Linked DNA regions of Homo sapiens: all the other regions are linked to region 2. Evidence: promoter capture Hi-C in human tissues and cell types (Jung and others, 2019). All regions are on one chromosome and are shown on one strand. The core of a region is centred on a gene start or on the middle of the fragment in contact, and the rest is flanking DNA. Distances in the headings are between cores, read along the strand shown.

The links. The method cuts DNA at HindIII sites, captures the fragments that hold promoters and counts their contacts. A contact is called where the count stands out against the background at its distance.
Region 1: a contact is called between a fragment that was not itself captured here and the fragment with the promoter of NQO1 in region 2, in 1 of the 25 tissues and cell types used here (aorta).
Region 3: a fragment that was not itself captured here is called in contact with the fragment with the promoter of NQO1 in region 2 in 1 of the 25 tissues and cell types used here (pancreas).
Region 4: a contact is called between a fragment that was not itself captured here and the fragment with the promoter of NQO1 in region 2, in 1 of the 25 tissues and cell types used here (pancreas).

The regions. Positions count from the first base shown.
Region 1 is chr16:69,874,842-69,877,956 of GRCh38, reverse strand. All of the region lies in intron 7 of WWP2 (WW domain containing E3 ubiquitin protein ligase 2), which reads right to left. Among named protein-coding and RNA genes, the nearest start is that of MIR140, 57 kb to the left of the region's middle. The HindIII fragment of the contact is 7,914 bases long and covers 1-3,115 here.
Region 2 is chr16:69,725,036-69,728,247 of GRCh38, reverse strand. NQO1 (NAD(P)H quinone dehydrogenase 1) reads left to right here and starts at 1,688. Exons shown (of 6, transcript NM_000903.3): 1 at 1,688-1,815. The coding sequence starts at 1,809. It overlaps NQO1-DT (NQO1 divergent transcript), which reads right to left and starts at 1,521. Exons shown (of 2, transcript NR_186363.1): 1 at 1,073-1,521. RefSeq lists enhancers at 219-1,212, 1,421-1,680, 927-2,126, 1,213-2,205. The HindIII fragment of the contact is 19,943 bases long and covers 1-3,212 here.
Region 3 is chr16:69,858,658-69,861,561 of GRCh38, reverse strand. The region is part of intron 6 of WWP2 (WW domain containing E3 ubiquitin protein ligase 2); the gene reads right to left. Among named protein-coding and RNA genes, the nearest start is that of MIR140, 73 kb to the left of the region's middle. The HindIII fragment of the contact is 7,416 bases long and covers 1-2,904 here.
Region 4 is chr16:69,546,046-69,549,172 of GRCh38, reverse strand. No RefSeq gene overlaps it. Among named protein-coding and RNA genes, the nearest start is that of MIR1538, 18 kb to the left of the region's middle. The HindIII fragment of the contact is 7,884 bases long and covers 1-3,127 here.

The sequences.
Region 1 (3,115 bases), core at 436-2,935, 150 kb before region 2:
ACGCGCCTATAATCCCAGCTACTGGGGGGGCTGAGGCAGGAGAATCGCTTGAACCTGGGAGGCGGAGGTTGCAGTGAGCCAAGATCATGCCATTGCACTCCAGCGTGGGCAACAGCATGAGACTCCATCTCAATAAATAAATAAATAAATAAAAAGCAAATTTAATAATAAATATTGTGTGTGTTCTGACGGCTCCACCACCTGGCTGTTCTCTCTCTCTCTCTCTCCTTATACCCTACATTGGCCTCTAAGTGTTCAAGCAAAAGGAAGAGTCATATGTCTCTCACTTTAAATCAAATACTAGATATTATTAAGTTTAGTGATAAGGAAGGTGGGTTGAAAGCCAAGACAGGCCAAAGCTGGGACTCTTGTGACAGTTAGCCAAGTTGCGAATGCAAAGGAGAAGTTCTTGAAGGAAATTAAAAGTGCTACTCTGATGAACACTTGAGTGATAAGAAAGTAAAACAGCCTTACCAAGAAAAGTGATAGGGAGAAAGCGATAGGGAGTAGTCTGAAAAGAAGATCAAACCAGCCTCGACATTCTCTTAAGCCAAAGCCTAATCTGGAGCAAGACCCGAACCCTCTTCAATTCTATGAAGGCTGAGAGTGGTGAGGAAGTTGCAGAAGAAAAGTTGGAAGATAGCAAAGATTGGTTCATGAGGTTTAAGGAAAGATCCCTCAAACACAGCGTAAAAGTCCAAGTGAAGAAAATGCTGAGGAAGAAGCTGCAGCAAGCTATCCAGAAGATCTAGCTAAGATCATTGACGGGGTTGGCCACACGAAACAACAGCTTTTCAATGTTGACGAAAGAGCCTTCTATTGCAAGAAGATGCTATCTTGGACATTCATAGATAAAGAGAAGTTCATGCCTTCAAAGCTTCAAAGGACAGGTTGTCTCTCTTCTTAGCAGCTAATGTTGCTGGTGATTTTAAGTTGAAGCCAATGTTCACTTAACATTCTGAAAATCCTAGGGCCCTTATCAATTATGCTAAATCTACTCTGCTTGTGTTTTATAAATGGAGCAACAAAGCCTGGATCACAGCACATCTGTCTGCAGCATGGTTTACTGAATATTTTAAGCCCACTGTTGAGACCTACTGTTCAGGAAAAAAGATTCCTTTCAACATATTACTGCTCATGGATAATGCACCTGGTTACCCAAGAGCTCTGATGGAGATTTACAAGGAGATTAATGTTGTTTTCATGCCCGCTAACACAACATCCATGCTGTAGCCCATGGATCAAGGAGTCATCTTGCCTTTCAAGTCTTACTATTTAAGAAATACATTTTATGGCTGGGCACAGTGGCTCACGCCTATAATCTCAGCACTTTGGGAGGCCAAGGTAAGTGAATCACTTGAGGTCAGGAGTTTGAGACCAGCCTGCCCAACATGATGACACCCTGTCTCTACTAAAATACAAAAATTAGCCGGATGTGGTAGCAGATGCCTGTAATCCCAGCTACTTTGGAGGCTGAGGCACAAGAATCACTTGAACCCGGGAGGTGTAGGTTATAGTGAGCCAAGATCATGCCACGGCATTCCAGCCTAGGCAACAGAGTGAGACTGCATCTCAAAAACAAAAAACGAAAAAAAAAAAAAACCCCAAAAAACATGCCCCAAAAAAACCAAATACATTTTATAAGGCTATAACTGCCTTAGATCATGATTCCTCTGATGGATGTGGCCAAAACCCATTAAAAACCTCCTAAAGGCTTAAGCCTACAATCCCAGCACTTTGGGAGGCCAAGGCAGGCAGATCACCTGAGGTCAGGAGTTCAAGACCAGACTGGCCCACATGATGAAACCCCATCTCTACTGAAAATACAAAAATTAGCTGGGTGTGGTGGTGCATGCCTATAATCCCAGCTACTCCTGGGACTGAGGTATGAGAACTGCTTTAACCCAGGAGGCGGAGGTTGCAGCAGTGAGCTGAGATCATGCCACTGCATGCCAGCCTGGGCAACAAGAGCAAAACTCCATCTCAAAAAAATAAAAAAATAAAAAATAAATAAAAACTAAAAAGGACTCACCATTCTAGATGCCATTAAGAACATTTGTGATTCATGGGAGGAGGTCAACATATCAACACAACAGGAGTTTGGAAGAAGCTCAAACCCTGATAGATGGCTCTGAGGGGTTCAAGATTTCAGTGGAGGAAGGAAATGCAGGTGTGGTGGAAATAGCAAGAGAGCTAGAATAAGAAGTAGGCCTGAATATGTGACTAAACTGCTTCAATCTCATAAGAAGACTGGAATAGATTAGGAGTTGTGTCTTATGGATGAGCAAAGAAAGCAGTTTCTTGAGATGGAATCAACTTCTAGTGAAAATGCTGTGAACACTGTTGAAATGACAACAAGGATTTAGAATATTCCATATACTTAGTTGATAAAGCTGCAGCAAAGTTTGAGAGAATTGACTGCAAATTTGAAAGATTTTCTACTGTTGCTAAAATGCTGTCAAACAGCGTCGCATGCTACAGAGAAATCTTTGATGAAAGGGAGAGTCAACTGATGCTGTGAACTTCATGTTGTCTTATTAGAAATTGCCACAGCCACCCTGACCTTCAACAACTACCATCCTGATCAGTCAGCAGCCATCAACATCGAGGAGAGACCTTCCACCAGTGAAGAGATTTCCACTGGCTAAAGGCTCAGATAATTGTTAGCATTTTTAGCAATAAAGTATTTTTTAATTAAAGTGTATACATTTTTTAGACATAATGCTGTTGTACCTTTTATGGACCATAGTATAGTGTAAACATAACTTTTATATGCACTGGGAAACCAAAAAATTCATGTGACTTGCTTTTTTGTGATATTCACTTTATTGTGATAGTCTGGAAACAAACCCATAATATCTTGAAGGTGTGTCTGTAATTTATGCCTTATGACAACTTATGAGATATATACTTTTGCTGTAATTTTTTTTTTTTTGACACAAGGTCTCACTCTGTTGCCCAGGCTGGAGTGTAGTGGTGCCATCTCAGCTCACTGCAACATCTGCCTCCTAGGCTCAAACGATCCTCCTGGCTCAGCCTCCTGAGTAGCAGGGACTACAGATGCATGTCACCACGCCCAACTTTTGCCCTAATTTTATAAATGAGAAAACTAAGA
Region 2 (3,212 bases), core at 439-2,938:
TTTTTTTTTTAATTTCCATTTTTTTTCTTTTATTGAGTCCACCACTGCGGCCTTGAATTCCTGGGCTCAAGCGATCTTTTTGCCTCAGATCCTGAGTAGCTGGGACACAGGCGCCTGCCACCACGCCTGGCTGCTGGCCACATTTCCAGTGCTCAATAGCTACTTGAAGCTTGTGGCTACCTTACTTGGGCAGCACAGATAGGGAAAGTTCTATTGGACAGGGCTGCCTACCTAGCCCTTTTTTAAAACGTCCTTTTATACTATTTTGTCAGATGGGGTCTCACTTTGTTGCTCAGGCTTTTCTCAAACTCTTGGGCTCAAGTGATCCTCCTGCCTCAGCCTCCCAAAGTAATTTGTAAATACGTGTAAATAATATAGTCCTCTCTTGTTGCATCAAAATGAATGCAAAAATGTCACGATGGGGCCGGGCGCGGTGGCTCATGCCTGTAATCCCAGCACTTCGGGAGGCCGAGGCGGTAGGATCACCTGAGGTCGGGAGTTGGAAACCAGTTTTCTGGTGCCTCCTTAACTTTTGCACTGGAGGGACAACGGAAGGGCCCTGTGTCATCCTCACCTCCCCCATCTGTGATTCTTCTGATGGTTAATTACCACTTTAAAGCTCTAGTTCTTTTTCCTTCACCTACTGAGAGTATATCTCCTTCTTTACAGTAACTTTTACTTTATAGAGTTTTTTTTGAGACGGAGTCTCACTTCGTCACCCAGGCGGGAGTGCAGTGGCACGATCTCGACCCACTGCAACCTCCGCCTTCCGGGTTCAAGCGATTCTCCTGCCTCAGCCTCCCGAGTAGCTGGGACTTACAGGCGCCCGCCATCACGCCCAGCTAATTTTTCAGTACAGACGGGGCTTCACCAGGTTGGCCAGGCTGGTCTCGAACTCCTGACCTCAGGTGATCCACCCACCTCGGCCTCCCATATTGCTGGGATTACAGGCGTGAGCCACCGCGCCTGGTCCCGTTTTGGCTATTCTTTAATATGCTTCCCTATAACTGCTATCTCCACACCAGCCTTGCCTTAGCTCATGGGAAACAAAACCAATTAGTTCCCCCATTACCTGCCTTGAGGAGCAGGGGTGGTGCAGTGGCATGCACCCAGGGAAGTGTGTTGTATGGGCCCCCAAGTGCAGAATCTGAATCTTGCAAAGGAAGAAACAAATTCGTCTCCACGGAGCATGTCTCCCCAGGACTCTCAGCCTTCCAAATCCGCAGTCACAGTGACTCAGCAGAATCTGAGCCTAGGGCACCACAGTAATCCGCATCCGGCTCTTTTTCTGCTCCATTTCGTGCCAAGGCTAAAAGGGCATGCCCACTTGATCCCTGGACTCTCTTGGGACGACTTCCACCCTGCATCCTCTTGCACCTCAGGGCACAGTGCGCAGATGGGCTTGCCTTAGCACCCCCAGCCAGATTTTTGAGGCCTCTGTCACACACACCCCTACAATCCCCTCCCCCAGCCCCGAGAGACTTTTCTTGACTTCCACCAGTTGCTCCGGCGGGTGAGAGTGGAGAGGCCCCTCCTTCATCCCCCAGGCTCCCTCCCTTCCTGGAGCTGCAGCCTCAGCATCCTCCGCCCAGCACCCCAGGATTCAGGCGTTGGGTCCCGCCCTTGTAGGCTGTCCACCTCAAACGGGCCGGACAGGATATATAAGAGAGAATGCACCGTGCACTACACACGCGACTCCCACAAGGTTGCAGCCGGAGCCGCCCAGCTCACCGAGAGCCTAGTTCCGGCCAGGGTCGCCCCGGCAACCACGAGCCCAGCCAATCAGCGCCCCGGACTGCACCAGAGCCATGGTCGGTGAGTGCTGCAAAGGGCGGGGTGCTTGGCGGTCGTCTCTCGAGCACTGGTGCCTGTGGAGGAGGTTGTAGGGGCTTGGCCCTGAATTTTGTTCCTTGACTCAAAACCCACAAAGGGAAGAGATTAGGGACCTGGGATGAGCCTTGATCGGACTCCGGGAGAAGGAGAGCTTCTGTTTGTATCCGGTGTCGCGGATCCTTCCTCACTCCACCCCACGAACTCTAGTGGGCATTTAGGAGAAACTTGACCTTGGAAGCAGAAATTCCCTCCAAAACTGTGGTCAGAAACTGGCCGTCAGAGGCCAAATCAGGCTTACGGTCACAGCCCATACCTCTTTTGGTCTATAGTATCTAAAACACTTTGAAATAAGTTGCTAACATTAAAATGGGTGATTTCACTTAAAAATGTGGATTCCGAGCTTCTGAAGAAAATGAGAATATCTGGCGATTGGTGGACAGGAGTGGAGGAAACTGATGCCTTTGGTTTGACGGAGACCAGAACCGGCTCCAGGCTGCCAGGCACAGGTTTTGTTTTGTTTTGTTTTGTTTTGTTTTGTTTGAGACGGAGTTTTGCTCTTGTCGCCCAGGCTGTAGTGCAATGGCGCTATCTCAGCTCAGCGAAACTTCCGCCTCCCGGGTTCAAGCGATTCTCCCATCTCAGCCTCCCGAGTAGCTGGGATTACAGGAGTGCGCCATCATGCGCGGCTAATTTTTATATTTTTAGTACAGACGGGTTTCGCCAAGTTGGCCAGCGCGGTCTTGAACTCCTGACCTCAGGTGATCCACCCACCTCAGCCTCCCCAAGTGCTGAGATTACTGACGTGAGCCACCGTGCCTGGCCTTGGGAGGCATTTTCCATTGAGGCCCTTGGATTAGGCAAACCTGATCAGATCGTACTGGATCCGTTTCTAGTATTGGGTCCACTTCAGTGATAGAGCCTTCCCACTCGGCCATCGACCCTAGGGGAACTCAGAGGTCACCCCAGCTCCACCCAAGGCATAAATAACCAGCTGAGACAACTGCAGGGATTGAGAGCTGTTTCCCAAATAATCTCACTCTGAGATTGGACAGTACTAAGATTTAGAAAGCTGTTGCCTCATCTGGGGCAGAATCCTGTGTTTTGTAATTTCCTTCCCTGTGGACCTGGTCCTGCCTCTAAAAATGCGCCTGTACACAAAGAAGCCCATCTTGGTCAAAGTGAGTGGAGGAACAGACTGCCCTTGCAGTTGACAAACTGAAATTATCAGGATCTCTGAGAAAGGGACTAAGCTGGGGATTGGTAGCCCAGCATGAGTTACTGGCAGAGACAGCAGGGAATAGATTCTGACAGCTGAGAGGCTTGCCGCATACACGGTGGTTGCTGTTTCCCTTGTATTTCATTCTTCAGCGTCGAGGCAC
Region 3 (2,904 bases), core at 405-2,904, 130 kb before region 2:
TTTACGGCTCCATTCCACACCCTACCTCTGGACTGCCAGCCTCACAAATGACAGGGAAGGTAAAAATAAAATCGCTGCCAAGTCCATTCTAAATTACAGAAAGACTTCCGGAAGACAAACAATTTCCTTTTGCGCACCCTAGAGTACAGAGCAACCTTCTCAAAGGTGGCAATTTCATTAGACTAAAAAAACTCACCTTGAGAGAGAAGGTATAGTAAATGGTGACTTGTCCAATCTACTTCCAGGCCGTATGTTGGGCTTAGCTGAGAAGAGTGCTCAAATGCCCTCCCAAACTTCAAAGAGAGCTAGAGAGTTCAGAGGGGAAGTGTTCACCTGCTCAACGTGGCCATTGATGGCTTGAGGTACCCTGAACAGAGACAGCAGCCTGTGATTTGTCCTATGACCTGAGATCCCCTGACCCTGAATTATGAGTGCATAGGACACTGTTGCCGCTTAGGAGATGAGCATCCCCATCAACCTCCACTGTGCACAGGAGGAATCTCCATGGGGCTGGCCCCCAAGGAATGCAGAGCACAACCTGTACAGGTGCGCCAGAAAAGCCTCTTCACTTTCTCGCTACTGGCATCATTCCCTGTTTGAATCTGGCCCACTCACTGCCTCCTTTTACTATAGCTCCAGACCAGAAAGGACTACACAGGACCTTGAATGAATGGGGGACTACAGTATATTAGAGTGTTCTTTCTTTCCTTTTTTTTTTTTTAACTAGAGATCGAGTCTTGCTATGTTGTCCTGGCTGGTCTCAAACTCCTGGCCTCAAGCAATCCTCCAGCCTCGGCCTCCCAAAGTGTTGGGATTAGAGGCATGAGCTGGGTAGAGCATTATTTCTAAGTGTTCTGACACGACAAATCACAAGGCAGGAATTCAGCAGGACGGAGGCAGGCTCCAAAAAGAATATGTTCAATGGACATCCCTCAAAATACCTCTCTAGACCCCTACCAAGGGAGAGTCAGACCCTTTGCTGATCTACTTGCCCGGCATTCTCTTCCTGGACTTTCCACCCAGGTGGCCAAATTCCTAGGCCAAATCTCAGTCCAAATGTCCCTCATCTCCCAGGCTACAGTAAATTTCCTTTCATTCTCTCATAACATCCTAATTGTTCCCTTTATGGCACTGCTATGTGTCACTACACATTCATGAGGGCAGAGATCATGTCTTGTTTTGTGAACCTCTGGAGACTCAGCACCTAGTGTGTGCCTGGCCCACAGTAGGATTCAGGAAATATCTGTTGAATGAAGGAAAGATGCAAGCTGTCAGGTTCAAAATCACTCTTGGGCCTGTAACCTCCAGTACTTTGCATATTCTTTCCAATCCAGTCACTCATCACCTCCCCGACTCCTTTAAAGAATGGAATCGGACCACCACGCCTGGCTAATTTTTTTGATTTTTTTTTATAGCGATGGGGGTCTTGAACTCCTAAGGTGAAGTGATCCTCCCACCTCGGCCTCCCAAAGTGCTGGGATTACAGGTCTGAGCCACCATGGCTGGCCCATTAGAGAGAGTCTTTCTACTGTGGGGAGAATTTCTAAAATGACATCCCTCTCACTCTAGCCCCCCTCCAATGCCTAAAACCTGTGAATATGACAAGGTGCCACACCCTTGAGTATGTCGTCAAGTATGTCGTCGTGTACCACAGCAGACCTTAAGAAAGGGGATCATCGGGCGGGGCGGGGGTGGGGGGCGGTGCTCTCTCAGTCTAATTAGCATCACATCACCTCCTGGAAGCAGAGCGCCTTCTCCAGCAGGTGGCAGGAGAGAAAATCAGAGAGATTCAAATCACAGGGAGATCTGACACTCCTTTCCTGGCTCGAAGGTGGAGGGGGCACCGTGAGAAGGAATGCAGGGGTCGGGGCCAGGGGGAAGCTTAAGGAGTTGAGAGGGACCCCCGCTGATGGTCAGCAAGGAATGGGCACCTCAGTCCTACAACTGCAAATAACTAAATTCAGCTAAGGACCTGAATGACTTTTTTTTTCTTTTTCTTTTTTTTTGAGACAGGGTCTCCCTCTGTCGCCCAGGCTGGAGTGCAGTGGTGCAATCACAGCTCACTGCATCCTCGACCTCCCTGGGCTCAAGCGATCCTCCCGCCTCAGCCTCCTGAGTAACCGGGATGACAGGCATGCGCCACCATGCCTAGCTAATTTCTGTATTTTTTTTGTTGAGATGGGGTTTGGCTATGTTGCTTAGGCTGGTCTCAAACTCCTGTACTCAAGCCATCTGCCCACCTCAGCCTGCCAAAGTGCTGGAATTACAGGCGTGAGCCACTGTGCCCAGCCCTGAATGACCTTTGATATGAATTCTTCCCCAGTGTATGCAGATAAGAATGTTGTCCTGCCAGAGCCTTGATTTTGGCCTTGTGAGACCCTGAAGGGAAAAGTCAGCCGTGTGATCCTGGACTTATGACCTACAGAACTGTGAGCTAATAAATGGTGTTGTTTTAAGCCCTGAGTTTGTGGTGATTTGTTACAGAGCAATAGAAAATGAATGCAAATAAATGACAATTCAATTTCCACAGTAGAAGATGGAACTCTCAAATACATGCATGACTAGGGAACAGCCTTGACCCAGTTCTTGCTGGTCTAGTTCAGCAGCCCTCATACAGTTATGGCATCACTCTGTGGGATCCAGTGCCCATGTCGAAGGAGCAGCATTCCAGTGATCCTAATGTCCTCAAGGAGACACTCAATCCTAAGATTCAATAATCACTTGGGAATTTGAACACCTAGTATAAATGAGATATTACCTATTCTTAGAGGGTAAGTAACATTCTTTTCTGGCAGAGTTGAAGTACACGGACTTTACACCTTCTTTTCCCAAACAAGACTTATTTATGTGTCAATTCTTCTCTGATTCCAATACTAACCTTAAAAGCTGCAAGGATTTGAAAAG
Region 4 (3,127 bases), core at 329-2,828, 180 kb after region 2:
AATTTAGCTAGGCATAGTGGCATGCACCTGTAGTCCTAGTTACTTGGAAGAGTGATGCAGAAGGATCACTTGAGCCCAGGAGTTCGAGGATGCAGTGAGCTATGATCATGCCACTGCGCTCCAGCCTGGGTGACAGGGCAAGACCCTGACTCAGAAACAGAAAAAAATACAGAAGACAAAGATGTTTTCCTCTCAGTGCTACTATTATATATTGTCCTGGAGGTTCTAGTCAATGCAATAGAAAGGGTTGCAAAGTAAGGAAGAAAAATCTTTGTTATTTACAGTTGAAATGTTTATCTACATAGGAAGTCCAAGAAAAATATTAAAATAATACAGCAACTTGCTGGCAAAGACATTCAAAAATGTCGTTAATTATAAAAAATACAATTTCAAGAGCAACAAAACTATGAGACGCCCATGAAAATATAACAAAAGATGGGAAATCCTTTTTGTTGTTGTTGTTGTTGAGATGTCGCTCTAAACAGGCTGGAGTGCAGTGGCGCCATCTCGGCTCACTCCAACCTCCGCCTCCCAGGTTCAAGCGATTCTCCTGCCTCAGCCTCCCGTGTAGCTGGGACTACAGGCGCGTGCCACCACGCCCAGCTAATTTTTGTATTTTTAGTAGAGACAGGGTTTCACCATGTTGGCCCAGATGGTCTCAATCTCTTGACCTTGTGATCCGCCCACCTCAGCCTCCCAAAGTGCTGGGATTACAGGAGTGAGCCACCGTGCCCGACCGGGAAATACTTTTAAGGAGAAATTTACAAAATGTTTATTGAAGGACACAAAGGAAAACTTAAAAAAATAGAGCTGATACTATGTTCCTGAATAGAAGGACTCAATATTACAAAGTTGTCTATCAATACATTATAACACCAACCAAAACTCCCAAAGGACTTTTTATGGCTCTTGATAAACTGATCCTAAATTTCATATGAAAGAACAAATAGGCCAAAAATAGCCATGATAATTTGGGGGGAAAAAGTACATAGAGGAGGGAACTCGACCTGCCAGATAAGAAACATTTGTCATAAAGCCGTATTATTAAAAAAAAAAAATGCAACATTTGTTTAGGAATAGACAAACAGATTAAAGGAGCAGATAAGCCAGAAACAGCCTAAATACATATAGAAACTTGTCGTAAAATAGAAATGGCTTTATAAATCAATCAGTGGGAAAAAAATGAAAAACGCAATGGTGCTAGAACAATTATTTATACAAACCCCCCCACAAAACTAATTAGTTCCTTACGTAGATGAAAATAAGTTTTAAATGGATTAAAAATTTGAAAGGTAAAAAGCAACATGTAAAAATTTTTGGAAGAAAATGCAGAATGTCTTTATGGCATCAGAACAGGGAAAGATTTTGTAAAGACTCAAAAGTACAAAGCATAAAGAAAAATATTGGACTACATTAAATTCAAAATATCTGTATACAAAATATATTATAGAAAATATCAAAGGATAACATATAAACTGAAGTTATTTACAGCTCATTTACCCAACAAAAGATTATACACAAATATAAGTATACCTTGAAGATATTTCAGGTTCATTTCCAGACCAAAGCAATAAAGTGAGTCATATGAATTTTCTGGTTTTCTGGTGCATATAGAAGTTATGTTTACACTGCACTATAGCCTATTAAATGTGCAACAGCATCATGTCTAAAAAACTGTACATACTTTAATTCATTAATTAATTATCATTATTTTTTGAAACGGAGTTTTGCTCTTTTTGCCCAGGCTGGAGTGCAATGGCACGATCTCAGCTCACTGCAACCTCCGCCTCCTCGGTTCAAGTGATTCTGCTGCCTCAGCCTCCTGAGTAGCTGGAATTACATGTGCACACCACCGTGCCTGGCTAATTTTGTATTTTTAGTAGAGACAGGGTTTCGCCATGTTGGCCAGGCTAGTCTCAAATTCCTGACCTCAGATGATCCGCCTGCCTCAGCCTCCCAAAGTGCTGGGATTACAGGCGTGAGCCACCGCGCCTGGCCCGTACTTTAATTTAAAAATACTTTATTGCTGGCTGGGCACAGTGGCACATGCCTGTACTCCCAGCACTTTGGGAGGCCAAGGTGGGTGGATCACTTGAGGTCAGGAGTTCAAGACCAGCCTGGCCAACATGGCGCAACTCCGACTCTACTAAAAATACAAAAAAATCAGCCGGGTGTGGGTGGTGGGCGCCTGTAATCCCAGCTACTCAGGAGGCTGAGGCAGGAGAATCACTTGAACTCAGGAGGCGGAGGTTGCAGTGAGCCAAGATTGCACCACTGCACTCCACCCTGAGCAACAGAGCTAGACTCCGTTTCAGAAAAAAAAAAAAACTTTATTGCTAAAAAATGCTAACAATCATCCAAGCTTTCAGTGGGTTGAAATGTTTGTGCTGGGGAAGGGTCTTGCTGAGATGTTGATGGCTGCTGACTAATTAGGGTGGTGGTTGCTGAAGGCTGGGGTGGCTGAGGCAATTCTTAAAATAAGACCACAGTGAAGTTTGCCACATCAATCCTTTCTTTCAACAAAGATTTCTCTGGAGCATTTGACGCTGGGTTTTTTTGTTTGTTTGTTTGTTTTAGAGATGTGGGGGGGCGGGGGGTCTCTCTATCTTGCCCAGGCTGGCCTCGAACTCCTGGGCCCAAGCACTTCTTTCTCCTCAGCCTCCTGAATAGCTGGGATGATAGGTGGACACCACTGTACCCAGCTCGTGATGCTGTTTGATAGCATTTTACCCACAGTGCAACTTCTTTGAAAATTGGAGTCAATCCTCTCTAATTTTGCTGCTGCTTTATCACTGAAGTTTACATAATAGTCTAAATCCTTTTTTGCTGGCCAGGCACAGTGGCTCATGCCTGTAATCCCAGCACTTTGGGAGGCTGAGGCGGGCAGATCACCTGAGGTTAGGAGTTGGAGACCAGCATAACCAATACAAGGAAAGCCCGTCACTACTAAAAATACAAAAATTAGCTGGGCATGGTGGCGCATGCCTGTAATTCCAGCTATTCAGGAGGCTGAGCCAGGAGAATCGCTTGAACCTGGGAGGCAGAGTTTGCAGTGAACCAAGATTGCGCCACTGCACTCCAGCATAGGCGACTTTTCTGTCATTTGTAACCTCACTGAGTCCTGACT